Linked DNA regions of Homo sapiens: regions 2, 3, 4, 5, 6 and 7 are each linked to region 1. Evidence: promoter capture Hi-C in 16 types of primary human blood cells and fetal thymus (Javierre and others, 2016). All regions are on one chromosome and are shown on one strand. The core of a region is centred on a gene start or on the middle of the fragment in contact, and the rest is flanking DNA. Distances in the headings are between cores, read along the strand shown. Region 1 holds the start of EMC2 (ER membrane protein complex subunit 2). Region 2 overlaps OXR1 (oxidation resistance 1). Region 3 overlaps OXR1 (oxidation resistance 1). Region 4 overlaps OXR1 (oxidation resistance 1). Region 5 overlaps OXR1 (oxidation resistance 1). Region 6 overlaps ABRA (actin binding Rho activating protein). Region 7 holds the start of SYBU (syntabulin).

What was found. The method cuts DNA at HindIII sites, captures the fragments that hold promoters and counts their contacts. A CHiCAGO score of 5 or more calls a contact.
Region 2: a contact is called between a fragment that was not itself captured here and the fragment with the promoter of EMC2 in region 1, in 2 of 17 cell types (total CD4 T cells and non-activated CD4 T cells). The highest score is 7.3, in total CD4 T cells.
Region 3: a fragment that was not itself captured here is called in contact with the fragment with the promoter of EMC2 in region 1 in 6 of 17 cell types (activated CD4 T cells, naive CD4 T cells, total B cells and 3 more); the score reaches 8.2 in activated CD4 T cells.
Region 4: a contact is called between a fragment that was not itself captured here and the fragment with the promoter of EMC2 in region 1, in 1 of 17 cell types (fetal thymus). The highest score is 6.8, in fetal thymus.
Region 5: a fragment that was not itself captured here is called in contact with the fragment with the promoter of EMC2 in region 1 in 1 of 17 cell types (activated CD4 T cells); the score reaches 5.1 in activated CD4 T cells.
Region 6: a fragment that was not itself captured here is called in contact with the fragment with the promoter of EMC2 in region 1 in 1 of 17 cell types (naive CD4 T cells); the score reaches 7.7 in naive CD4 T cells.
Region 7: a contact is called between the fragment with the promoter of SYBU here and the fragment with the promoter of EMC2 in region 1, in 2 of 17 cell types (total B cells and naive CD8 T cells). The highest score is 8.6, in total B cells.

What each region holds. Positions count from the first base shown.
Region 1 is chr8:108,441,957-108,445,352 of GRCh38, forward strand. It overlaps EMC2 (ER membrane protein complex subunit 2), which reads left to right and starts at 1,668. Exons shown (of 11, transcript NM_014673.5): 1 at 1,668-1,742. The coding sequence starts at 1,703. It overlaps LOC105375704 (a long non-coding RNA gene), which reads right to left and starts at 1,516. Exons shown (of 3, transcript XR_928530.4): 1 at 1,414-1,516. RefSeq lists a silencer at 1,502-1,621. The HindIII fragment of the contact is 5,303 bases long and covers 1-2,095 here.
Region 2 is chr8:106,649,824-106,653,219 of GRCh38, forward strand. The region is part of intron 3 of OXR1 (oxidation resistance 1); the gene reads left to right. All of the region lies in intron 1 of OXR1-AS1 (OXR1 antisense RNA 1), which reads right to left. Among named protein-coding and RNA genes, the nearest start is that of OXR1-AS1, 6.2 kb to the right of the region's middle. The HindIII fragment of the contact is 7,815 bases long and covers 1-3,396 here.
Region 3 is chr8:106,665,559-106,668,954 of GRCh38, forward strand. The region is part of intron 3 of OXR1 (oxidation resistance 1); the gene reads left to right. Among named protein-coding and RNA genes, the nearest start is that of OXR1-AS1, 9.5 kb to the left of the region's middle. The HindIII fragment of the contact is 2,952 bases long and covers 443-3,394 here.
Region 4 is chr8:106,721,553-106,724,948 of GRCh38, forward strand. The region is part of intron 11 of OXR1 (oxidation resistance 1); the gene reads left to right. Among named protein-coding and RNA genes, the nearest start is that of ABRA, 47 kb to the right of the region's middle. The HindIII fragment of the contact is 3,703 bases long and covers 1-3,395 here.
Region 5 is chr8:106,738,006-106,741,401 of GRCh38, forward strand. It overlaps OXR1 (oxidation resistance 1), which reads left to right. Exons shown (of 17, transcript NM_001198533.2): 13 at 1,453-1,578; 14 at 2,338-2,490. Among named protein-coding and RNA genes, the nearest start is that of ABRA, 31 kb to the right of the region's middle. The HindIII fragment of the contact is 584 bases long and covers 1,369-1,952 here.
Region 6 is chr8:106,759,369-106,762,764 of GRCh38, forward strand. ABRA (actin binding Rho activating protein) reads right to left here. Exons shown (of 2, transcript NM_139166.5): 2 at 115-2,146. The coding sequence ends at 1,669. Among named protein-coding and RNA genes, the nearest start is that of ABRA, 9.2 kb to the right of the region's middle. The HindIII fragment of the contact is 1,333 bases long and covers 1,087-2,419 here.
Region 7 is chr8:109,642,976-109,646,371 of GRCh38, forward strand. It overlaps SYBU (syntabulin), which reads right to left and starts at 1,847. Exons shown (of 7, transcript NM_001099754.2): 1 at 1,661-1,847. The coding sequence starts at 1,684. It overlaps SYBU-AS1 (SYBU antisense RNA 1), which reads left to right and starts at 1,154. Exons shown (of 2, transcript NR_161375.1): 1 at 1,154-1,247; 2 at 2,143-3,396. RefSeq lists a silencer at 1,612-2,101 and enhancers at 1,614-2,550, 2,212-2,531. The HindIII fragment of the contact is 4,274 bases long and covers 290-3,396 here.

The DNA.
Region 1 (3,396 bases), core at 418-2,917:
AAGCTGAAAGTCACCCAGCTACTGAAAGGTAGAGCCTGGATTCAGATCTGGGAGTTCTTGTTCTTCCTATTGCACCAGGTTGCTTTACTGGAGCATTAAAATATGTGAATTTCTGAGTATTTTTTAACTTTTTGAATGAAAGATTTTTAAAAAGTCTGTTTAGAAAGAATGCCAGCTCATTCAGAATTGAATCCAAGTATATACATTCACTAGTCTTCTCTGTTGTTAAGTGACTTCTCTGGGGTCTATGGTTTGATGGTTTTTTTCCTTTTTTTAAACAAACAAACAAAAAAACCTCTGCGGTTGACTGGAGCCGACAGGTGAGGAATGGAGAGATGTTGGTCAAATAGTACAAACTTTTGGTTGTAAGATGAATATGTTCTGGAGATCGAATGTACAGCATGGTGACTACAGTTATAATTCTGTATTGTATACTTTGAAGTTTGCTGAGAGATTTTTAAGTGTTCTCAACACACACACACACACACACACACAGGAAATATGTACGGTGATAGATGTGTTAATTAGCTTGCTTGTGGTAATCATTTCACAGTGTATATTTACATCTAATCATTACTTTGTATACCTTAAATATACACAATTTTTGTCCATTACACCTCAATAAAGCTGAGAAAAAAAACCCTCCACTCTTTTGACTTGTGGGATAGTATTATTTCTACTTCTCAAATCAACTGCCCCTTCTTTACTGACCAATAACTTTCGGCTGCATTGCAGTGATTTTTAGTTTTTTCTCAGCTTACATATTTCCTCTACAATCTCATGTCCCCATTGCTTCAAATACTAAATATACGCTTATCATCCTCAAATTTTTTACTTCCTGTCCAGACATTTCTCCTTAAGTCTAGGAGATGACGTCCAAAGTTTCCTAAAAGCAATTAGTCTGGTGGGAAAGGAGGCTCCCCCATCCACCCAGGAGTAATGAGGAGCGAAGTTCAGGAACTGTGAAGGTCTCATTCGTACATTCATTCCTTATAAGTACTTACATACTCGCGACAGTTTGAAACCTAGTGTGGCATGCAGACATGGATGAAGCAATGACAGGCACGACGAGCGTTAATGAAGGGTATAAGCTAGCGCGAGGGCATTCAAGGGAACTTCAGAGCGCAAAGGAAGAATCCCACTTAGTCTCTCAAAACTTTGGAGTTTATCCGTTTAGTCGATTAAAAAGTGAACGGAAAGCAAATCCCATTACGGAAGGAGGAAAGTTGGGGACAAATAAGGGATTCGTGCAGAAGGCTGCACTGCGGCCGGCCATGAAGAGAATAAGGGTACTTAAGGGAGTGTGAAGAGAATGAACAAGCCTAGGTAGAAAAAACTGAAAAGCCAGGATTGACGGACACTAAAAACCCAGCATTTGTTAAAAATCCACGTCAACACACACACACACCTCACCCCGAGCCAGCACCGTAGCCCCGCCAGCAGCCAGGGTATCCTGAGATTGCGGGAGCGCCACGCACCGCCCACCTAGCTCCGTCCACCGTCCAGCTCGCTCCGCCCAGCTCGCTCCGCCCCCTTCCCCGAAAGCCCCTCCGCAGAGCCGCGTGCACGTGCGTGGCGGATACCGCCCCCTCTGCTCTCTTGGCCAATGAGAAAAAGCTACGTAACTCTCCACCGCCCGGTGGCGGGTCACGTGACTGCGTCTCCCCGCCCTCTCACCCCGCTGCCTCTAGGTTCTGGGAAGATGGCGAAGGTCTCAGAGCTTTACGATGTCACTTGGGAAGGTAACTTCGGGTGGGGGCGGGTGCGGAAAGACTAAAAGCGCTGGGAAGCCGTTCGGGAGTACCCGCTGCTTTCGGGGAGCTGGGTTCTCTGGTGTCTTTTTGGTACCAGAGCCCTCACTGTACGGGCCAAGCTGAGGTGGAGGCTGAGGCTGACCCTTCCCTTGGCCCGGACGCGTACTCTGCAGCGTTTCCCACGGTGTCTGCTCCTCGGTTGACCTGCCCTCCTCCGCGCCAGTCCAGCGTCCCGGGGCCGCTTTTATTTATGAGGCGGGCGGGAGGGACTTGGGGCTGGGGTTGTCGCACGCTAACTGGTTGCTGGGCGGTGCGGAAGAGGCGGAATAGGTGGTTACTGAAGCTTCTTTGGAGCCAAGAAACACAGGGCCTGTAAGGCCCTTTACTAAGTGGTGTGTAAGGATTACAGCTCTGTGCAGAAAAGCTGTGTAAAAGATGCGTGAACAAATGTGATTCTCATATGCCACTCTACATTTAGTTTTCTTCTTAAACCCGGGTTTCCAGTTTCTTTTCCTTTTAGTCTAGTCTCTGTCCCACTCCTTCTCAAAACACATTTACACACACAACACAACTTCTTTCTTACTCCCTACTAGTAGTTTCTTTTCTGAAGGGAAAAATAACTAATTAACTCTGGGCTACGTAAGTGCTTACGTGTGATGGTCACTTTTCCCTATCCTTAGTTGATCTAGAGTGGGATATGTTCTTTAAATCTGGGAACAGCCAAACCTTGGATCAATTCTGTGTGCTTAAGAAACTTGAGTTTCATTAAGGCGTGGAATTTGTGTAATTGGAATTCATATTCCCAGCATTTAACATAATACAGGAGACTTCAGTAGCTAATTTGCTTAACGAATGCCTTCTTGGGATGTTTTAATAATGACCTGAAAACATGTGGACCGAAAGTTGTATTTTCTGTTTTATCGTGAATAAATATATCAGTTATTATAAAGTTGTAAATCCGTTACAAATAAAGCAAAATTTCTTTGTACTTGAACTGAATTAAATGATTTATTGACTTTATGGCCTCTAGCACGTTGTGAATCTCAGTATTTATACCTGAATTGAGGGATTCCATTATATTAAACAACAGTGTTGATTTCTTACTGCAAAATCTTGGCTCTGTCAACACACAGTCCCCACTTCCAAGGAAGTCACAATCTAATGGAGAAAACAAACCTGTAAACACACAGTTTTAAAAGGCTTGTGTCAGGGTATCTTCCGTAAGCTGAGTCGTAGATAAATGGATGTTATTTTTAATGCTTTTTAAAAAATGTTTTAAATATTACATAATTTTTAGAAAATGCTATTATGAAGGTATGTTCATTATAGGTTTCCTAGATGATAGTAGCATATATAAAATCCTGAGGGACGAGTAGCTGTATACTACCAACAGACAAGGTGATTTAACTGAGTAATTGGACCTTACCCTGTGGTCATTCTAAAGAGGATTGATGTAATTAATTTGGAATAATAAATAATAACTACTACACAAATTTGTAGGAACAAAGAAAACATTTTAAAGTGCTTTGTAAACTGTTAAGTACTATATAAAAGGATGTGTTACTATTAGCTAGTGCTAATATGATTATGTCCTTCCTCTGTATGATCTGGCGGTTGCCCATGTCTCCAGCTTTATCTTGAG
Region 2 (3,396 bases), core at 385-2,884, 1.8 Mb before region 1:
ATAGCTGGGACTACAGGCACCCACCGCCACGCCCAGCTAATTTTTTGTATTTTTAGTAGAGACAGGGTTTCACTGTGTTAGCCAGAATGGTCTCGACCTCCTGACTTCATGATCCGCCCACCTTGGCCTCCCAAAGTGCTGGGATTACAGGTGTGAGTCACCGCACCTGGCCAAAAATATTTTTTAATTATATACACTAAATAACAACATAATGAATAATGTCTTCAATATCAGTTCCTCACACAATTATTTCTTGCGTTGAACTTCAATAAAATTCAGAATATAACACTAATGGTATAACTTGATAAGGTATTTTATAGGAAGCATTATAGCTCACATTTACCAAGGCTTAATGTTTTACAGGCACTCTTGTAGGCATATTGCTTGCATGATGTTATTAAATCTTCCCGACATCTCTATATGATCTCTATTTTACAGGTAAGGAACCTGAGGGAGAGAGAGGCTAAGTCAGTTACTTTCCCATTACGCTGCTAGTAAGTGGCAAAGCCAGGATCTGAAGTTAGACTAAGGGCCCATGTTCTCAATGATGAGACATGCCTTAGGTATACTGACTGCAGATGACCTAACTTGATATGCCTGTAACTCTTAGACAACTTAAGAAAGATCACATTTTTCTTACTGATGATTGAGAAATGCAGTCTATCTCAAATGCCTTTCATAGGAGCTGAATGACAGTCAGATTGGCAGTGGACAGTCTAGCAAGCTCCTACAAGATAGAATGGGCTTATGGGAAACAGGTCCTTTTTAACTTAAAAAATCATTTTCGAATAGGTGATACATGCATATTATACACACAGTGAAAATTAAGGCTCTCTCTCATCACACCCTAAGCCACCCACTTCTTTTCTCAGAAAGCAACCACCATTACTAGGTTCTTATATATACTAACAGAAATGTTTTATTTGTATGTGGATAACTACACATACTTCACATTGTTTTCAAAAATTGAAGCATACGACATGTGGTGTTCTATATCTTCCTTTCCCCCTTAAAAATACTTTTCTCAAGATTCTTTCATAATCAGTTATACCAGGAACTGTGTAGTTATTTTTAATGGCTGAATAATATTCCATTATATAGACATGTCATATTGTATTTAATCATTTCCTTATTAGTCACCACTTAGGTTATTTTCAACATTTTGCTATTGCAAATAGAAAATTGCATCATTTCATACATCAGTAGGATAAATATCAAGAAGTGAGGACACTGAGTCAAAAGGAGTGTGCTTTAAAAATGTTGATAGATCCTGCAAAATGACCCTCTTTGATGATCCTGCAAAACGGTAGTACCATTATTCGCTCCCCTACTAGTAATATATGAAAGTGGTAGTTTCCACCCACTGTTAGCAAAATGGCTTGAAACTTTTTGATCTTCACCATCCTGATAGAAGAAAATGGTATTTATTGGCAGATATTTGCATTCCTCTTATTAGTAATGAAGCAAATTTGTTGTTTATGCCTTTGGTGTAATCTCTGAGTCCACTGCCAATTCCAAGATCATGAAGATTCACCTTATGTTTTCTTCTAGGAATTTAATAGTTTTAAGTCATACACTTATGTCTTTAATCTATTCTGAGTTCATTTCTGTCCACGGTGTGAGGTAAGGGTTTAATCTCATTCTTTTGTATGTGAATATGGAGTTGTTACTGCACCATTTATTGAAGCCACTATTTTTCCCCATTAAATGGCCTGGGCATCATTGTTGAAAATCAGTCTGTTTTCCCTAAATGTATGTGTTTACTTCTGAACCCTGAATTATATTTCATCAATCTGTACATCTATTCTTACGCCAGTACTACGGTTTTTGATTACTGTAGCTTTGAAGAAAGTTTTGAAATTGGGAAGTATGAGTCCCCCAACTCTGTTTTTCTTTTTAAATATTGTGTTGGTTCTTTGGGGTTCCTTGCAATTCTATATGAATTTGAGGATGGGATTTTCCATATCTGTAAATAAAACAGGGGAATTTTGATAGGGAGTGTATTGCATCTGTATATTGATTTCTGAATTGCCATTTTAACAATATTAAGTTTTCTAGTCCATGTATATGGGATGTCTTTCCATTTATTTAGATTTTCTTTAACTTCTTTCAATTATGTTTTGTATTTTTCAGTAAATGTCTTGCTCCTCCTTGGATAGATTTATTTCTAAGTATTTTTGTCTTTTTGATGCTACTATAAATGGAATTATTTTCTTAATTTCATTTTTGGATTAGAGATGCCTTTTTGTAATGTGTCTATTTGCAGGGGTATCTCTTTCTAATCGCACAAAAACATCTTGTGCTGGCACTGGTGATCTTTGGGAGTGTAACATCAGCTTGAAAGTGCCATAGAAATAGGGACTCTCTATCTTAGTGCTGAGTAGGCATTTACTAAAGCTGAATGAATGGATGACAATTTGCTGAGAGTGAGCTTGGGTAGGAGCTTAAGAGAGGCAGCAAATATGGATTTTCAAGAAATTCAGTGATGAATGGAAGGCCTTAAAAATGAAGGAAATGGAATATTATCCAGGATAGACTATAAACTAGGCCATAAAAAAACTCAATGATTTTGAAAGGATGGGGGAATTGTACCAAGTATGTTCTCTAACTACAGTAAAATTAAGTTAGAAGTCAAAAACACAAAGAAATTTGGGAAATTCACAAACATGTGGAAATTAAACAACATACTCCTAAATAGCCAATGAGTCAAATAATAAGTCATAAGGAAAATTACTTTGAGATAAATAAAAACTAAAGTACAATATACCAAAATTTGTGGGACAGAACTAATGAGGTATGTAGCTGTAAAAACCTATATTATTAAAAAAAAAGAAGATTTCAAATCAATAGCCTAACCTTCTGCCTTATGAAACTAGGGAGGTTGGGGGGCGGCGGGGGGAAATAGAAGATACTAAACACAAAACAAATAGAAGGAAATTATAAAGATTAGCATGGATATTAATGGAATAGGAAATAGAAAAACATTAGAGAAACCTCATTAATGAAACCTCAAGTTGGCTCTCTGCAAGGAGCAACAAAATTGACAAAGATTTAGATCGAGCAAGAAAAAAACAGAGATGACTCAAATTACTAAAATTAGGAGTAAAAGAGCTGATATTAATATAAATCAGAGAAATGAACAGGATTATAAAGGAATACTATGAACAACAAATTAGATGACTTACATTAAATGAACAAATTCCTAGAAAGACAAAACTACCAAAACTGACTGACACAAGGAGAAATAGAAAAAAAAAAAAATATATATATATATATGGTAAATGATTATAGTAATTTAAAATATTACCAGAAAGAAAAGCCTAGAGCCAGATGGCTTCAATGGTGAATTCTACCAAACATTTAAAGAATGATTAGTAACAATCCTTCAGAAACTCT
Region 3 (3,396 bases), core at 669-3,168, 1.8 Mb before region 1:
TGCTAGATTATAAATAGAATGCACTTTTTATGGTAGAAGACAAGGGAAAGTAGGTTTTTATATTTTTAACTTCAAGAAATCTAACATTAAAAGTAAAGTGACTGCAGATAGTGTTTTTCTGTGTGTGAAGGCTTATTTCATGGCCACTAGGAAACTTACATTAGGAGACTCTTTATAAATGTTGTTCAATAGGTGATACTAGTACAAAAAGGAATGTGTTTTAGGGTCAAATACATACATTAGAGAAAGGACAAAAATTGGCTTTTATTTTCTAGCAGTAAATGGAAAGAAGGAAATGTAATCAGCCATAAATCACAGTGTCCCTAGGATAAAGATAAACCTGTTGCTTAGGCAGCCAGGAGAAACACAGTTATTCCTTATAGTGAGAATATAACAAAAAAAAAACTCATGGAACTCTGTAATAAAGCAAAACAAACCAAAAAGCTTATTTTTATGGTAAGTACAGACTTCAGTTTCAAAAATCTATTTTTAATTTTTTTAAACCCATTAAATCTTTAATGTAGTTCAATGGTGTAGCTCTAAACTGCAAGTTAGTAAAAGCACTTCTGTACAAGGGGAAAACAATTAATCCAAATATGCAGTTATCTAACAGTCCATCTTAACTGAGAGGTAGGTTTTACATTTTAAACTATAGATTTTAGATAGTTACGACTCTCTGTTTTGGATTTTTTTGAGAGTACTACTCAATAGAATTTTTTGAGGTGATGAAAATGGTCTGTATCTGTGATGGCCAGTATGGTAGCCACTAGGCAAATATGGCTATTGAGTATCTGAATTGCAGCTAATGCAAATGAGGAACTGGATTGAGAAAATTGGATTCAGGATTCTGTATTTGCTCTATCTAATATGGTAGCAACTAGTGTTAAAGGAAAAATTATTTGATAATACTTCCTAAAGCACAATAAGACAGACTTTATTCAGGACCATTGCAATAGGGATAGGGACTGTGGCAATGAGATTTTGTAGTTGAGGAGAGAGATTGGGCTCAACTCCAAATACAAAATGGGCAAGTGGGAATTTCTAGCCAAGGAGTAGAGTAAGGATAGATGGATGGACAATTGCTAAGAGGTAACGTCAGGAATAAGGGGTATTATGGTGAAACTGACCTACCAGGATTCTTGCTGAAGGCAGGCCAGAGTAATCAGACTTCACCTGGACAGTGGAGGATGAGAAAACTGATCAGATACGGAAGGTAATCAGATATCCAGGATCGGGGTGGGGGTTCCTGCTACACTGACCTTAACATGATTCTTGCTGAAACTCGGTTTTATAAGGAAGTGAACAGATTGGCATAGGAGAAGGTTCAGCAGCCTGACTAAAATTTGGCTATGCAAATAATCTTTGTGACTAGGCACATGTAGCTATTTTAATGTAAATTAATTTAATTAAGTAAAACTTTAAATTCAGTTTTCAGTCTCACTAGAGACATTTCAAGTACTCACAAGACAGATGGCTAGTGGCTACCATATTATACAAGGCAGATATAAAACATTTTTACCATTGCAGAAAGTTTTATTGGGCAGCATTGATAGCAATGAGTCCCAATGCAGGGTACACATTAGAATTCCCTGGGTAGCCATGAAAAAATTTTGATGCCAAGATCTGATTATAATCAAAGATTTGATCTTGAAATCTCTGTTTAAGATCTCCACTTACAGTTTCTTACGGAATTCTAATATGTAACTAGGGTTAAAAACCACTGACTTAGGATGTGAAGGACTCTACATCATTCTGTTTTCCTTAATGATATTTCTCTCAATCAAACTCTTGCTGAATTTAGCAGGTTATTATTTATTTATTTTTCTTTACAAGTACTTGGGGCATGCACCTATTTTATGATGCAAGTTAATAAAAGAAATGCATGTTTAAGTTTTCTGCCAACCTCTGGATAGTATTGAGACCTTAGGAAAGTTGAGGTGACTTACAATGAAAAGTTCCTAAAAGGAAGACATGTTTGTATGCTGAGAGAAAGATGCTGAAGATAAAATGACTGTGTGGCAAGGTCCTTGTGGAATAAATAAACTACTGGAATTATGATCATTCTTTTTTCACATGCCACAATTAAGAGCCATTAATATTGTGGAATATTTGCTTCCAGTCTTTTATACGAAATTAATTTTTAAAATAAACCTGATATATACTATATATAAATAAGTCATATGTTGCAAATACTGAACTTTAAAAATCACCTCTAATCCAGTCACCCAGAGATACTGTTAATATTTGGGTAGGCATTACTGCCAAGTAATGTACATCACTTCTATGTGTATGTACATATAGAAGGATGGATGGGTGGTTAGAAGGAGGGAGTGACAGAATGAAAGATAATACTTATTCACCACAAGAGGTTAATTCCTAAGGGGTGTGTCTAAATTTAAGCAAATTCTAAAAAAAAAAAAAAGAAAAAAAATTACAGATACTGTTATTACAATCTTGTTTCAGTTTTAGGTGGGATATATTTAACCATGCTTTGGTATGACATTAGCAGTTTCATTTCTCATTTTTCTCCTCCTCACATCCTAATATTTACTCATTTTACTATTTTTACATTGTCCATGTTTGTAACATTCATACTTAGTTTTTCAACCACTTTTTTATAACTTATTATTGTTCTATATTCTCTAGTAACCTTTTAGAATGTCCTCCTTGATTCTGGAGTTTTTGATACAATTGGCATAATTTCAGTCTTATAGCACTGAGTAATGTTTCAGTAGAGAAGTCTCATGCAAGCCAGCCAGATTCTTTTCCATTTCCCCTAGTAGATGATTTGCTTTTTATGCATGAATTGTTGAATAATTTTTTAAGCTCCCAAGCATAATAATTTAACTAAGAGTAGAAATGGGAATAGCCTGACTCATGTGCCCACATGTGTCTATGTGGAATAATCTTTTAGGAATTACACCTTTCTTCTGGAATACATGTTGATGGAGCAGCCACTATATGGAAGATCTCTGGTTTTGAGATAGAAAAGAGAGCTAAGAAGTACAATTTTGGCTCCAAACACTTCCACCTGGAAGACATATATGGTTCATTGGGCAAAGCAAGTTGGCCATGTCTGACATCAATAGGATGGTGAGGTATATTTTATATTCCTCAACAGGAAGGAATACAGGCTTAGTAACAATAATATAGTCTATCACCATGACTAATTTAGAAACCATTATATTAGTTTGACAGATTTGAAAACTGCTGGTGTTAACTGTCACAAATATGAAGTTATGTAGGGAAGCCCATTTCTTCTGTCACTTACGCAGTCTGCAGGTCTTTGATCTCTTCAGAAGCTCTATTTGTATGTCTCTCAAATGTGTTGTGCGTGCAAATCAATAGTAAATCTGTAGGTCCGGACTGAGCCTCAGATCTTACATTCACAGTAAG
Region 4 (3,396 bases), core at 294-2,793, 1.7 Mb before region 1:
ACTGATAAAAAGACATTCTGTACAGTTTTGGGGTTTTGAAACAACCTGTATCTTTTTAGGTACATGACATTAGTCACATTTTCTCAATAATTGAAGTTTAGATTATTTAAGTATAAATGTAAATATGTTAACTACTTACTATATAAACCTCTATACTATTATTCAAAATATGTTAGAATCTGCCTTTCAGCTTAGTTTTTAAAATAATTTATAGTCTTTCCATTTTGACTTTAGTATTTAGTGCTGTCCCTTTTAGTTATATAAGTGTAAAATATGTAACCCGTTCTTAGCATTGTAGGCCATAACATTTATCACATTATGTCATTGTTGGATTTGGTTTTTCACTACTATGTGGTGATTGCCTTGTGGAGCCAGTTCTGTTTTCACAGCTATCATTAAGTAGAGTTATGGTCAGGATCATTCATTAGGTTTCCCAGAAAACTTCTACAACCGTGGTTATTGCTGCAACTTTTAAGAAACACCTTATCAGGAGACTTCCCTTGTTTGGTTAATATCTTATTTCCTAAGCTGACAGGCAGTGAGTATTCTGGTGATCATTTTATTAAACATATGTTTTCTATTATTATTAAGGTACAAGTAACACCAAAATTAAAACTGAGTTAATATGTTAAACGCACAAAACCCTCATGATCTCTTCTCAGTCTAGCCAGCAAAATCCACATAGAATTAATTTTGTCCAAAAGTGAAGGAATTCTTTGTGTATAAAGTCACTACATTGAGAAATCACATTTCTCAGATAAAGGGAATTTTTTTAAGTATTCTTTTTTTTTAATACTGATCGAATAATCAAATAATATTACAAATTATAACTCCAGAAGAAATTTAATAAATCTAAAAAAGAAATCAGAAGGATTAAACACTTAATTAGAATTTATTAGTTGATAGGTACTGACTTTCATAATACGGTCATGCAGCACATAATGACATTTTGGTTGGTCCCCTGAGATTATAATGGAGCTGTCTCTTAGTGATGTCATAACATCATAGTACAATGCATTACCCTCTCTATGTTTAGATATATTTTGATACACAAATCCTTATCACTGTGTTACAGTCACCTATAGTATTCAGTACAGTAACGTGCTATATGGTATGACCTAGAAGTAATAGGCCATACCGTATAACCTGGTTATATGGTAGGCTATTCCATTTAGGTTTGTGTAAGTACACACTGTGATGTTCACAAAACGAAATTGCTTAAAGATGCATTTCTCAGAACATATCCCTGTCATTATGTGATATATGACTATATTTCTATGTTGAGAACCTGTATAGTTACAAATGAAACTTTTAGACTGTTTATGTTTTCTTTTATTAGCATTTGGCACCCAGGTTTTATGCCTAATATGGTCTGTTTTGACTACTGATTATGTTATCTTAAAGTTGTTATCGACCTTAGGAGAGTTTTGAACTAGTGTTTTGCTTTCCCTGTTAAAAATATTCTTCAATTGCTAGCCCAAAGTTATGAGCTATAACATTTCCATTAAAAATCTTTATCTAGGCCAGGCGTGGTGGCTCACACCTGTAATCCCAGCATTTTGGGAGGTCAAGGCAAGCAGATTACCTGAGGTCAGGAGTTCGAGACCAGCCTGGCCAATATGGTGAAATCCCATCTCTATTAAAAATACAAAAATTAGGCCAGGTGCGGTGGCTCATGCGTGTAATCCCAGCACTTTGGGAGGCCGAGGCAGGTGGATCATGAGGTCAGGAGATCGAGACCATCCTCGCTAACACGGTGAAACCCCGTCTCTACTAAAAATATAAAATAAAATACAATAGCCAGGTGTGGTGGTGGATGCCTGTAGTCCCAGCTACTCAGGAGGCTGAGGCAGGAGAATGGCATGAACCCAGGAGGCGAACCTTGCAGTGAGCCGAGATCGTGCCACTGCACTCCAGCCTGGGCGACAGAGCAAGCCTCTGTCTCAAAAAAAAAAAAAAAAATACAAAAATTAGCCGGGCGTGGTGGCGCACACCTGTGATCCCAGCTACTCAGGACTCTGAGGCAGGATAATCACTTGAACCCAGGAGGCGGAGGTTACAGTGAGCAGAGATCATGTCATTGTACTCCAGCCTGGGCAACAGAGCAATACTCCATCTCAAAACAAAAAACAAACAAACAAAAAACCTCTAATATAGACTGTCAGAAGAGGATTTATGGGTGACAGACTAGTTTATGATTTTAAATATTAAAATTCTAAAATATTACTTTATTTTTAAATTTATTATTATTTTTTGAGAAAGGGTCTTGCTGTGTTGCCCAGGCTGGAATGCAATGGCACACTCACAGCTCACTGCATCCTCGAACTCCTGGGCTCAAGAGGTCCTCCTGCCTCATCCTCCTCAGTAGATGGGACTACAGGTATGTGCCACCTCATCCAGCTAATTTTTTTTTTTTAGAGATAGAGTCTTGCTGTGTTGCCCACGCTGGTCTCAATCTTCTAGGCTCAAGTAATCCTCCTGCCTCAGCCTCCCAAAGCACTGGGATTACAGCCACCTCACCTGGCATAAAATAATAAATAGTGAGTAGGGTAAATTATATATTATAGCTTCTATCATACCATTCCCAACTCAAATAGGAAGAGATATAAGGTAATTTAATAACTTCAGTTCGAATAAAGTAAAGGAAAAGGATTATTAAATTGAATATCTGAATTATGAGAACAGATTATGTTCAACTTGTAAACTGGTAGTGTTTTCAAAAGTGCTTTGTTTTATATCCCATCATGTTATAATAATAACAATTGACATCTGCTTCAAATTCTTGGATATCTAGGCAAATTTAAATGACTTAGCAATATGTATTATAAATACTACAAAAACAGAAAGGGCAAGAAGGAGACTTACTGAGCTCATTTTATGTTTGCCTGACACTGTATTTATAAATTTGGATGACTTCGAGAAACAGAAAACCACACTCAGAATAGCTTAAACCTGTTGTTTCTCGAAGTGTAGTTCCCAGACCATCAGCAGCAGCAGCACCTGGGAATTTGTTAGAAATGCAAATTCTCAGACCCCATTTGAGTCTGATTAATTAGAAACCATTTTTGGAGCCCAGCATTCTGGTATAACAAATACTCCAGGTGATATTGATGCCGGCTAAAACTTGAAAGCCACTGATTTAGGTCTCTAATGACTAGTTCTGTCCAGAGATGAGAGCCAGCCTCCTCAGAAACACATGGCTGGAAGGATACCTGAGCAAAATCAAGGCCACTTCAGGAAGGAGTTGTAAGGGTGGATATTGAATAGGCAACCAACAGAATAGACTATGCCATGCTTGGTGGTTTTTGGTTTTGTTTTTAATATCTCATTTAAACCTCATTTTGGAACACACGTCATATTTGTTATTTTAGAAAATGTAGCTGGAAGTTATGACAA
Region 5 (3,396 bases), core at 411-2,910, 1.7 Mb before region 1:
TCATTTATATCAGCGTCACATCAAATATCTCAATAGGATAAACTGTTCTTGAGGCATTCTTGGTTGGTATTAGGAGTACATTGGAATAGTACAGTTTAGACACAGAACTGGATAAATTACTTAAAATTCTGTGAAATAATCTTTGTGATTTTTTTTTTAGAAACAAGAAAGCAATGTAATTGAAAACTCATTTTTAAGTTGTGTCTATTATACTGTGTTTCTTTCTTCTTAATAAGATATGCTTTCATGGCTCTGCTAGACCTGAATTTTTTCTTTTAATGCTTCTAATGCTGCCTTGGGTTTCTTTTTCTTTTTCTTTTTACCTTTCACATCATCAAAATAAGGGTGAAACATGATGATATGAAAGAATGAGTATTTAGCTTCTTGTCAAAAAACAATACACTTATAGAACATGTATTGGTTGCAAATATATGCTGCTCAGGTTTGTTAAGAAACCTGTTAAAGGAACAAAATAATTTAGCAAGAATTTCATTCCCATATAGAATCACAGTTGCTGAGCGTTGCTGCATTTTAGTTATCTGCTCCAATAGAATTCTGCATATTTTCCAATTTAAAAGTTTCATAATGTTTCATTTCTTTTATTTTCTAATATTATTATGTTTTATATATTAAAATAAAATTAATATTAAAAAGTAAGCACCAATAGAATATATTGTGCAGTAGTAAGCTTTATTTTTACTTAGTTAACATTCTTATCGTTTTAAGAATACCAGTGAAATCATTTCCACCAAGCAAAAAAGCATGTATTCTTTGTAATGCAACACATTAATCTAATTTAAAAAATAAATTTATGAACAAATTAACAGTAAAATTTATTGTTTGGTCCAAGTAGATGAAAAAAATTAAATGTTTAGAAAGTTATAAAAAGAAAGCATTTAAAAAAATGGTAACGTTTGTCAGTGAAACAAATACATGCACAACTCACAGAAAATAGTTATTTTTTTTTATTCTACTATTCTTTACATTAAAATTTTGGCACCCAGGAAGTTTTGTTCATTATTTTTGACAAATTTTGTGTTAGCATGAAAGAATTCTATTTTAAATAGCATACACACACACACACACACACACACACACACACACACACACACACAGCGCAAGCCAGCTAGCTGACTTTTGCCCTTCAAGGGCTTAATTAAAGATGCATGCAACTATCTTCTTTACACAGAAATATGGGGATTTATCATTCCTACCAGTCGTTCCTCATGTAGTGGATGAGAAAACGTCTGCTTATATTGTTATAAAATCTTTTCCTACATTGGCTACATCATAGATATTAGATATGGGCCATCTTTTGCCCTATAAAATCTTAAGGTTAAAGATTTAGCCACATTTTCTACGATATAAAGCTTTATTTATCTGAAAAGTCTGACAATTTTGAAAGCATGTCACAAGTTTACATTAATGCACTACCTCTATTTACTGTTTTAGATTACTACAAGGGAAGACATAAATTCAAAGCAGGTTGCTACAGTGAAAGCAGACCTGGAGTCTGAATCTTTTCGACCAAACCTAAGTGATCCCAGTGAACTTTTACTGCCAGATCAAATTGAAAAGGTATGACATGCTCACATATGTGCATTTCTGAGTGTGAGTGTGTACCCATGAGAGTAAAACAGCCTCTTTTTAGTTGTTTCTGAAGCAACAGCGTTAATGCTATTACTATTCCACTCCAGTGAAAAGAAAGAGTAAGCAAAACATAGCAACTAGTGTTAATTAAGATGTTAGGAGATTTAGGTAAGCAGACACTAAAAGCCAATATTTGTTTTATTGTTGTGTGCTTGTTACTTGCTTTATGTGGATTATTTCATGTAGTTGTTACAACAGCTGTAGAAATTGGATGCTCTTATTATGCACATTTTTTATTAAGTTAAAAAATCGGGAGCACAGAGCGATTAACTTGTTCAAGGTCACACAGGGAGAAGTATTAAAGCTTGATTCCTAACTTGGATAGTCTGTCTCCCTAGCCTATTATTTAAGAGATATTTTAATAATCAAGCTAATAGTCTATCAAGTATTTTTGTTAATTCAATATGGAAGGCAAAAGCATTAAGTAATCTATGTTTCTTATCTCTGTTCTAATCTGTGTCTGGTTCAGGGTGATTCTTTATTTTCCTAATAGACAATTAATATTTTATTCTGAGAAATGTGTAATACTTTTCAATCATCTTAGTATCTTTGAGAATAATAATTTCTACTGTTAATTTATTTTTATAGCCTATATTATATAGGCACCATTACATTCCAGCTGGCATTAGTATTCTACATAATGAACAACAAGCTATCAAGTAAATACTAACACTTTGTTTTCTAAAGCTTACCAAGCATCTTCCACCAAGAACAATTGGCTATCCATGGACTCTTGTTTATGGTACTGGAAAACATGGCACAAGCTTGAAAACTCTTTATCGAACAATGACAGGTTTAGACACCCCAGTGCTGATGGTGATTAAAGACAGTGATGGACAGGTATGAAACACCAACTGCATAGATTGCTTATCCTTTAAGAGCAGTAACAGTAACTTTTAGCATATTTATTTGATAAACATTACTTTATTAGTGCATTTTATTGTTTAACTGATAATTACTGGGTACTTTTAATATGCAAGGCAATGTTGAGTATTACAGAGGATAGATATGAGCATGATGATTAAGAATTACTGCCTTCAAAGGGATTATAGAGTGGTAGAAAAGAACATTTGCACATACCAACATCTCTAATGGTGGGGAAAATGGTAGGTTTCTTAGAACCTAGAAAAAGTGAGGAAATAAGAATGAGGTTCATGGGAAAGGTAGAAATTGACAGAATCTTGAATAATGGGTGAAGTTTTGATTAAAGATAATTGTTTGAAGGTGATAGCCAGAACAAAAGCACAAATAAGAGTAATATTGGTTTGTTCTTCAAACAGCAAGTTCAAGTCAGTTGTAATTGGAAACTAATGAGAAGGTAAAATAGCAATATTAGAACAAAACACTGGTATTACTAACACTTTTAGTGTTTTATGTGTCAGGAACTTGACTAATCACTTATGCATTATGTTATTTAATCATGAAAGCCCTATGAGATTGATACTGTTATCTTTATATTAAAGAATGAGTCAACTATGACATAAGCTCATCAACTTGCCCAAGGTTACATACCCAAGAAAAAGTATTTGCACCAATGAAAATGAATGAACTGCTGCTACATGCCATGGCATAAATGAATGTCACAAACATAATATTGAATTAGAAATCAAACACCAGAGAGTAACTTTCTTATGATTTCATTTATAGAAAGTTTTATCAGTGGGCCAAATGAATCTATAGTGGTATTAGGCTAGTAACTCCTTCAGGTAGTTGAGACTATTGATGAGAGGAAGCACAAAGAGAGCT
Region 6 (3,396 bases), core at 503-3,002, 1.7 Mb before region 1:
TCTACTGATACTATAAGTAACCTAAGTTGCACACTATAATTTTATTGTATTTCAAACAGAAGAAAGTGTATGTGGAATATAACTTATAAATACTATAAAAACAAGAACAGAAAATACAAGAAAACATCTTTTATTCTTATGCTATTTGTCTTTAACATTTGGCGTAGGTTTCACTTGTAATAGAAGTGTGCATCTTACATGAAATCCTACTTAGAAATATTGGTCATTAACTTATAGCTTTATAAATACGGTATGGAAACAAAATACGCATACTTTCTTAAGATACCAGAACCTTCAGTTTGAAAGAGACTCATACATGAAAACAAATATAATTCTTATAGCAGTCTAATACCTATTATTTTGAGGTATCATATTTAGACATTAATTTTTACATTTAACACCAAAGTGCTATACTATCAATGCATTTTAGTAATTTCATTGAATCCAGTAAGAATTGCAATCTCACATTCCATTCCATTTGTTTTTAAGATCACATAGGCACATTAATGTCCAATGATTTTCTCCTTGCCATCATCATTGTATATTTTTTACTTTGGCAGAACTAATATTGCAGTTTTATGACTTAAACATTTCATAAAGTTTTCTTTGTTACAGTATGAGGAACATTAAACTGTCTCAAATCTGTTTTTAATTCACCAATGATTCTATGGGATTTTTCTAATACTGAACATTCCACTTCATAGATTTTCTGTATTTCTCCATTGTTGGAGAAATACATATCATTGCATTGATGTTAATGCAAGCAGCTTGACTCGTTATATGCTGACATGTAATGAAACAATAAACTTCTCCAAGAAGTCCTACAAAGGCAAGTAAATCTGAATCTCTCACCTCTGCTCTACTTTTAGTGAGGGTGTGCCTTCCTTTGTTGGTACTAAGACAGGAAGTGTCTGTTTTTATGTGATTTGCTGAAATCAAACAAGAGGAAGGTGAACTCTTACTGGAAACCTGTTAGAATCCAAGCCCACAGAGGAACTTCAACAATTTCAGCAACATCTTGACAACTTTTTATATATGTGCTTGTTTTGTAAGTGATGCTATGATATAAACAATAATACAAAGTCAAGCTTCTGAAAAAATTTTAAGTTTAGTTTTACCAAACTTAATGGTATTTTCTTTTTTCCAAATAAAGACACATTATTATATGTTCTACTGATATTTATCTCAAGTCAGCATTCTTCTTAGATGTAATGTTTAATTAAAAATCTATAGTAGTTTCTACAATGACTAGCTAAATATTTTGCCTAAAATATACAAGTGGCTGGGTGCTGTTGCTCATGCCTATAATCCCAGCTACTTGGGAGGCTGAGGTGAGAGGATCACTTGAGGCCAGGAGTTAAAAGACCAGCTTTGGTGACATAAAGAGAATCTGTCTCAAAACAAAAACAAAAACACCCTGTGGAATTTCAACTATTAATACTATTATTATACATTAACATTCTATGTGCTTTCTGAAATGCTTTGTGCCTTCTCAAAATCTCCAAAATTCCTCATTCTAGATAGAAATAGAATGCCAGAAAGTCGTTTATGTAAAAATTGTTTAATATTTACTAACTTATTACAGAGAGTTTGCATTTTCATTTTACCTACATGAGCATTTAGCATTAAGACCATAGTGGGCCAAATTTGGCTTTTGTTTTTGAAGGTTCACTTGAGTAGCGTAATCACAACATGGTCATCTCGGCCTTGCCATAGCATCTCTCCTTCAAAGTCTACCAGTCCATGTTTCCTGGCACGCATGAGAATGCCCACTACTTTATCTGAAATACGAACGTATCTGTCAAAGAGATCTCCAAAAGTAACCTGGATCTTGCCATCTCGTCTGTGGCGAGCCATTGTGCAGATAATGAAGCACATGTCCATCATTTCCCTGTAGATGTGCTCCTCAGCACGCTTGGCCCTTTCAGCAGTTTTGGTTCCTTCTTTGGGGCGGCCATAGCCCTCATCTCCTTTGTGTAGGCGGGTGGACATGGCCAGCTCGTAATCAAACTCTTCACTGAAAGGATTGAGCTTCTGGGATTGTATGTGTTCATCAGCCCACTGCTGCCATCTCCCTTTCAAGTTGCCCACTGGGCTATATTTCTGTTGGGCTTTGCAGTTGAGTTTCTCTGTAAATCTGTTTACCCTAAAGTAGAGAGAGGGTGAACAATCAAGATTCAGATATGTTAACACCGAGTGTTGTTTTCCCTTTGTACTTCCCACACATATGCATCTTTAATGTAAGTATAATTTTTTCACTACAAAAATAAACACAATATAAAAAATTAGAAATGAAAGAAGAAAAATCATACATAGTCCCACCGTTGTTCTTAGTTTGGTGCATATCCTTCTAGATTGTTTTCTCTATGAATAACGATTTTAAGCATTATAATGATATTAAAATCTATTTTAAGAAAAAAGCTTCCCCACACAAAGTTAATGCAAATGTGTATATCTTTAAGTTGAGTATTGGTAACATTTTAGAACTGAAATCATGTAGGTGTTTTCAGGAATCTAGTTCTTAGAGGACCTCTGAAACCAATTATTTCCCAAAGGTAAGGACTCTACCACTACACATGCAGTTTAATATTTAATCATATATAGATTTTTATATGTGGATTTTTCAGTGAGAGCATATATAGACTAGTATCAATGATGCCACAAACTTCGAAATATGAAGTTGTACAGATAGAAAACACTAGCTAGCAATAGTAACATTTACTGAACACTATGTACTGGCATTCTTCTAAATGCTTTATTAATATTCCCCACAACCATTTCCTGAGATAGGTACTACTATTCCTACTTCACAAATGAGGAAACTGAGGCCAGAGAGATGAAGTAACTTCTTAAAGTCACAAAACTGTTAAGTGGTAGAACTAGACTTTGAACCAAAGTTAAGCTGGCTCCAGAGCCTGTCTATAACTGTGAAATACTGCCCTAAATAGGTGACGTTGCAGGATTCAAACGCAAGACTGCCTTAGACCAAGGTCAATGCTCTTTCTACTATGTAGTGATGCCACTCAGCAGGCCCATACAGTGTCTAATAAAGGAATAAGTTGCGTTTTAAATGTGTATATCTTTGGAATTCAGAATGCATTTTCTATTAAAAAACCAACTCTGGAAAGTGTAGACTAGTAGTATCGTGAGGATGCCAGCCTAATATTAGGATGGGGCAGCAAACTAACACAGGAACAGAAAACCAAACACCACATGTTCTCACCTGTAAGTGGGAGCTGATCTATGAGAACACATGGACACAGGGAGGGGAACAGCACACACCGGGGCCTGTTGGGGGTCAGGGGGAGGGAGAGCATCAGGATAAATAGCTAATGCATGTGGGGCTTAATACCTAGGTGACAGGTTGATAGGTGCAGCAAGCCACCATGGCACACA
Region 7 (3,396 bases), core at 597-3,096, 1.2 Mb after region 1:
TCCCTCTCTTAACTCCTGTCGGTTCCTTCAAGGATCAATTTCTAAGAAATCACATTTCTGAGTATTGAGTCTTCACAGAGTAGTCCTTCTTATCTCAGTTGCTGAAATGAGCTTCAAAACTCTTCCAATGAGTTAACCTTTCTAATCTACTGAATAGCACATGTCTGTGTGGCACACACACACACACACACACACACATATACACACCTCCACTCACTAGCTGGAAGGCCATCCTACTTCCCTATGCTGGTCCTGACTCACCTTCCCACCCTGACTTCTATCACATTCAAGCTTCTGCCTCCCAAAGGCTCTTTATTAACACCACACTCTGGCTTACTTGATAGCCTTCAGACTTCCATTTTGCTTTCCCTAAATTAGCTGTGACAGTCTGACTTGTTTTCTTGTCTCCTCACAAAGTTGAACCCTATACCTGGAACAGTTATTTCCTGATAGCTCACACACAATTATCTTTAAAATCCCTCCTCTTCTGGACAGGATCTTAATTATTCGTTAATATCCTGGTACACAAGGCTTGTTGCCAACAGAAAAGCAAACACAAATCCGATACTCGGGAAGATGGCTCCACCTTTTACATCATCTTTAATTTTTGTTTTCCTTACAGGACATCCATAAGAAGAGATTTTTCTTTCTCCTTAAAAACGCAGCATGAAGTACCCTGCCATTTCGTGGTTTTAAAAATGCGTAACAGTAATATTTTCACAATGTTTTCCAACTTATAAAGTGCTTTTCCAACCATTTTCTCATTTGATCTTTACACACCAGACTGTACATAGAGAGCACACCAATGAATGTCCCTATTTTCAGATGAGGAAACAGGCTAAATGGGGTAGAGATGCTTAGGCAATTCTGCACACCATGCCAGAAGTAGAACGAAATTCAAATCCAGTGCTTTGCAGGGTCACCACCACCCTGCCTTATGAAAATGGATTCCTAGGAGGAGCGTTTTGCAAAAATTCCACTGCTTCCTCCAACCTCTGCCACTGAAAGGGACTCTTTGGCTTAGGTAACAAACACCCTTTCGAAACATGACCTACTGTTCCTTCCACCGGCTTACCAGGAAGGGTCACGGCCAAAATAAACACCTCTGGGAGGCCGGCACATGGCATAAATTGAAGGGTAAACCTCAGCAATGGGGAACTTCGGAGGGCCCTCAGGCATCCACTCTACCCGGGGGCCGCCAGCCGCACGCAGCCTCGGATTCGCCCTGCACATCTGCCGCCCAGCAGGTACCATGCGCCAGCCACTCCGCCGGGCACACCGCAGACCCTGAGCTAAGGCAGGGTCACTGACACGCGGGAGTCCTCTTTTCCCAGTCGCGGATGCATCAAATTCCTTTCATTCACATCACACACACAGGATATCAACTGAAAGCTACACCCCACAGTCCCAGTTTCAGGAGGTGGGATTAACCCTCCAATCATGTCATTCTCCAAAATCTATTCCTCCAGTACCACCTCCCCATCTCCTGGATCTCAACTCCTAAGCAATGCCTCCTGCCTTCTCCAGACCCCACCACCACCTCCTTCCACCTTTCCCCAGACTCTAAATGTCACCCCTCCAGCTCTCATCCCGCCGCTTCTCGCCCCGCAGTGCCCGCCTTCCCCGCCCTCCAGTGCCCGCACTGCCCCGCGCTCCTTACCTTGCTCTCGCGGAGGGGCCCCATCGCGCCGCTGCCCGCCGGCTCCTCGCGCCGCCGCTGCCGCCGTCCAGGAGGAGGCACCTGCGAGCACGGAGCGAGGAGACTGCGCTGAGCCGGCGCGGGCTGCGGGCGGCGGCTCTTGGTGAGGCTCCAACGCGCCGCCGCCGCCACTGCCGCCGATTGCTCTGGGCTCCGAGGGCACGCCCGACCCCGCCCCGGCCGGACACGTGGTGCCGCACTCGCTAGAGGCAGCTCCTGGGGCGCCTCCCACGCCCTCCCTCACCTGCGGCCTTCGGGGCAACTCGACCGCGCCTGGGCGCGCCCCACCCGCCCGATTTCCCCACGGCACTCCGCGCCCCCCCAGCCAGAGCCGGTGTCCCTCCCTCTCCAAGGAGCTCGGCCCGGTGTAGGCAGGCTGCGGCTAGCGGCATCTCCAGCCCAGGGGTGACCCCACCCTCTTTTTTTTTTGCACTTGATCTCAGGTTTGAAGTGGGTGGCGTTGGATGGAGTGACTGAGAAAAGCTGCGACATCACAGAGAGACAAAATAGAGAAAGTTTTCCCCTGGCCACCCCTCCTTGGCCTCCAGGTCTTAAGTCAGCCTACAGCTCCCCACAACTGCCTCGCCCGAGAGCTGCAGAGATCCCTCTCGTACCGGAGCCCAGCCAAGCCAGTGCGTCAGGACCGACACAGCCTCTGGGTTCCGGGATCTGAAAGGCTGCGATGGATTCTACTTGGAAGGGGTTGCATCAGAAAGGCCTTCAGTGGTCAGCGCAGCTCCCTCCGGCTTGGAGAAGCCAGGCTGCTATGTAGCCAGAGAACAGTCTTTTCCCCAGCGCTGCCCTGCAGCTGCCCGGCTCCAGGAAGTAGCTCCAGCACACTGCTAAGGGAAGAGCACTGGAATTGAACTCAGAAAAACGAGTTCAAGCCAGCACTCCAATCGGTCCCTTCAGCCTGAGTGCCTTTATGCCTAAAGTTTTTGTTGTTGTTTCGTTTTTTGTTTTTTTTTTTTTCCGTTGCTGTTGAAACGGCATCTCGTTCTGTGGCCCAGGCTGTAGTACAGTGGCGCGATCAGGGCTCACTGCAACCTCTAACTCCTGGGATCAAGGGATCATCCCGTCCAGGCCTCTCAAAGTGCTCGAATTACATGCGGATGCCATTGCATGCGTGGCCTACGCCTACGGTTCTTGACCCTTCTGAACTTCAAATTTACCCTTGTTAAATTGAGGGATAATAATAGTGATACCTACCTCTAGGATAGCTGTGAGGGTTAGGTGAGGAAAACAAACAGCTCTATCCAGCTGATTGAACAGAACTTTCCAAAGGGCAGCTAAGTCAGGTCCAGATGATCCAGTCAATATTTGTTGATGCCTTTTACATGACAGGCAGAAAAAGCATTTGTGATGCACACAAATTTGTTTAAGAAAGCTCGAAAATCTGTCCAACTGGGGACTTAGAATAGGGTACATCAGCTGGGCCAAGGGCCTTGATTTATTACAATTGCTACCCTTAAATCTTATCTGGTGGTGGAATTCACCATGTATAATGACTTATATACCCTTTATTCAGAATTGGAGAATATTCCAAGCAGTGCGACACTCTGATCCTTATGCACCAGTGTCCTACATAGGAGGACTGTGCTCCTCGAAAACTGAGGGTCATTGTCCCCTTTCATCCATCCTCCAAACAGCATTTCTGAGTCCTCAACTCTCAAGCCTAAGAATATATGTTGTGAGTC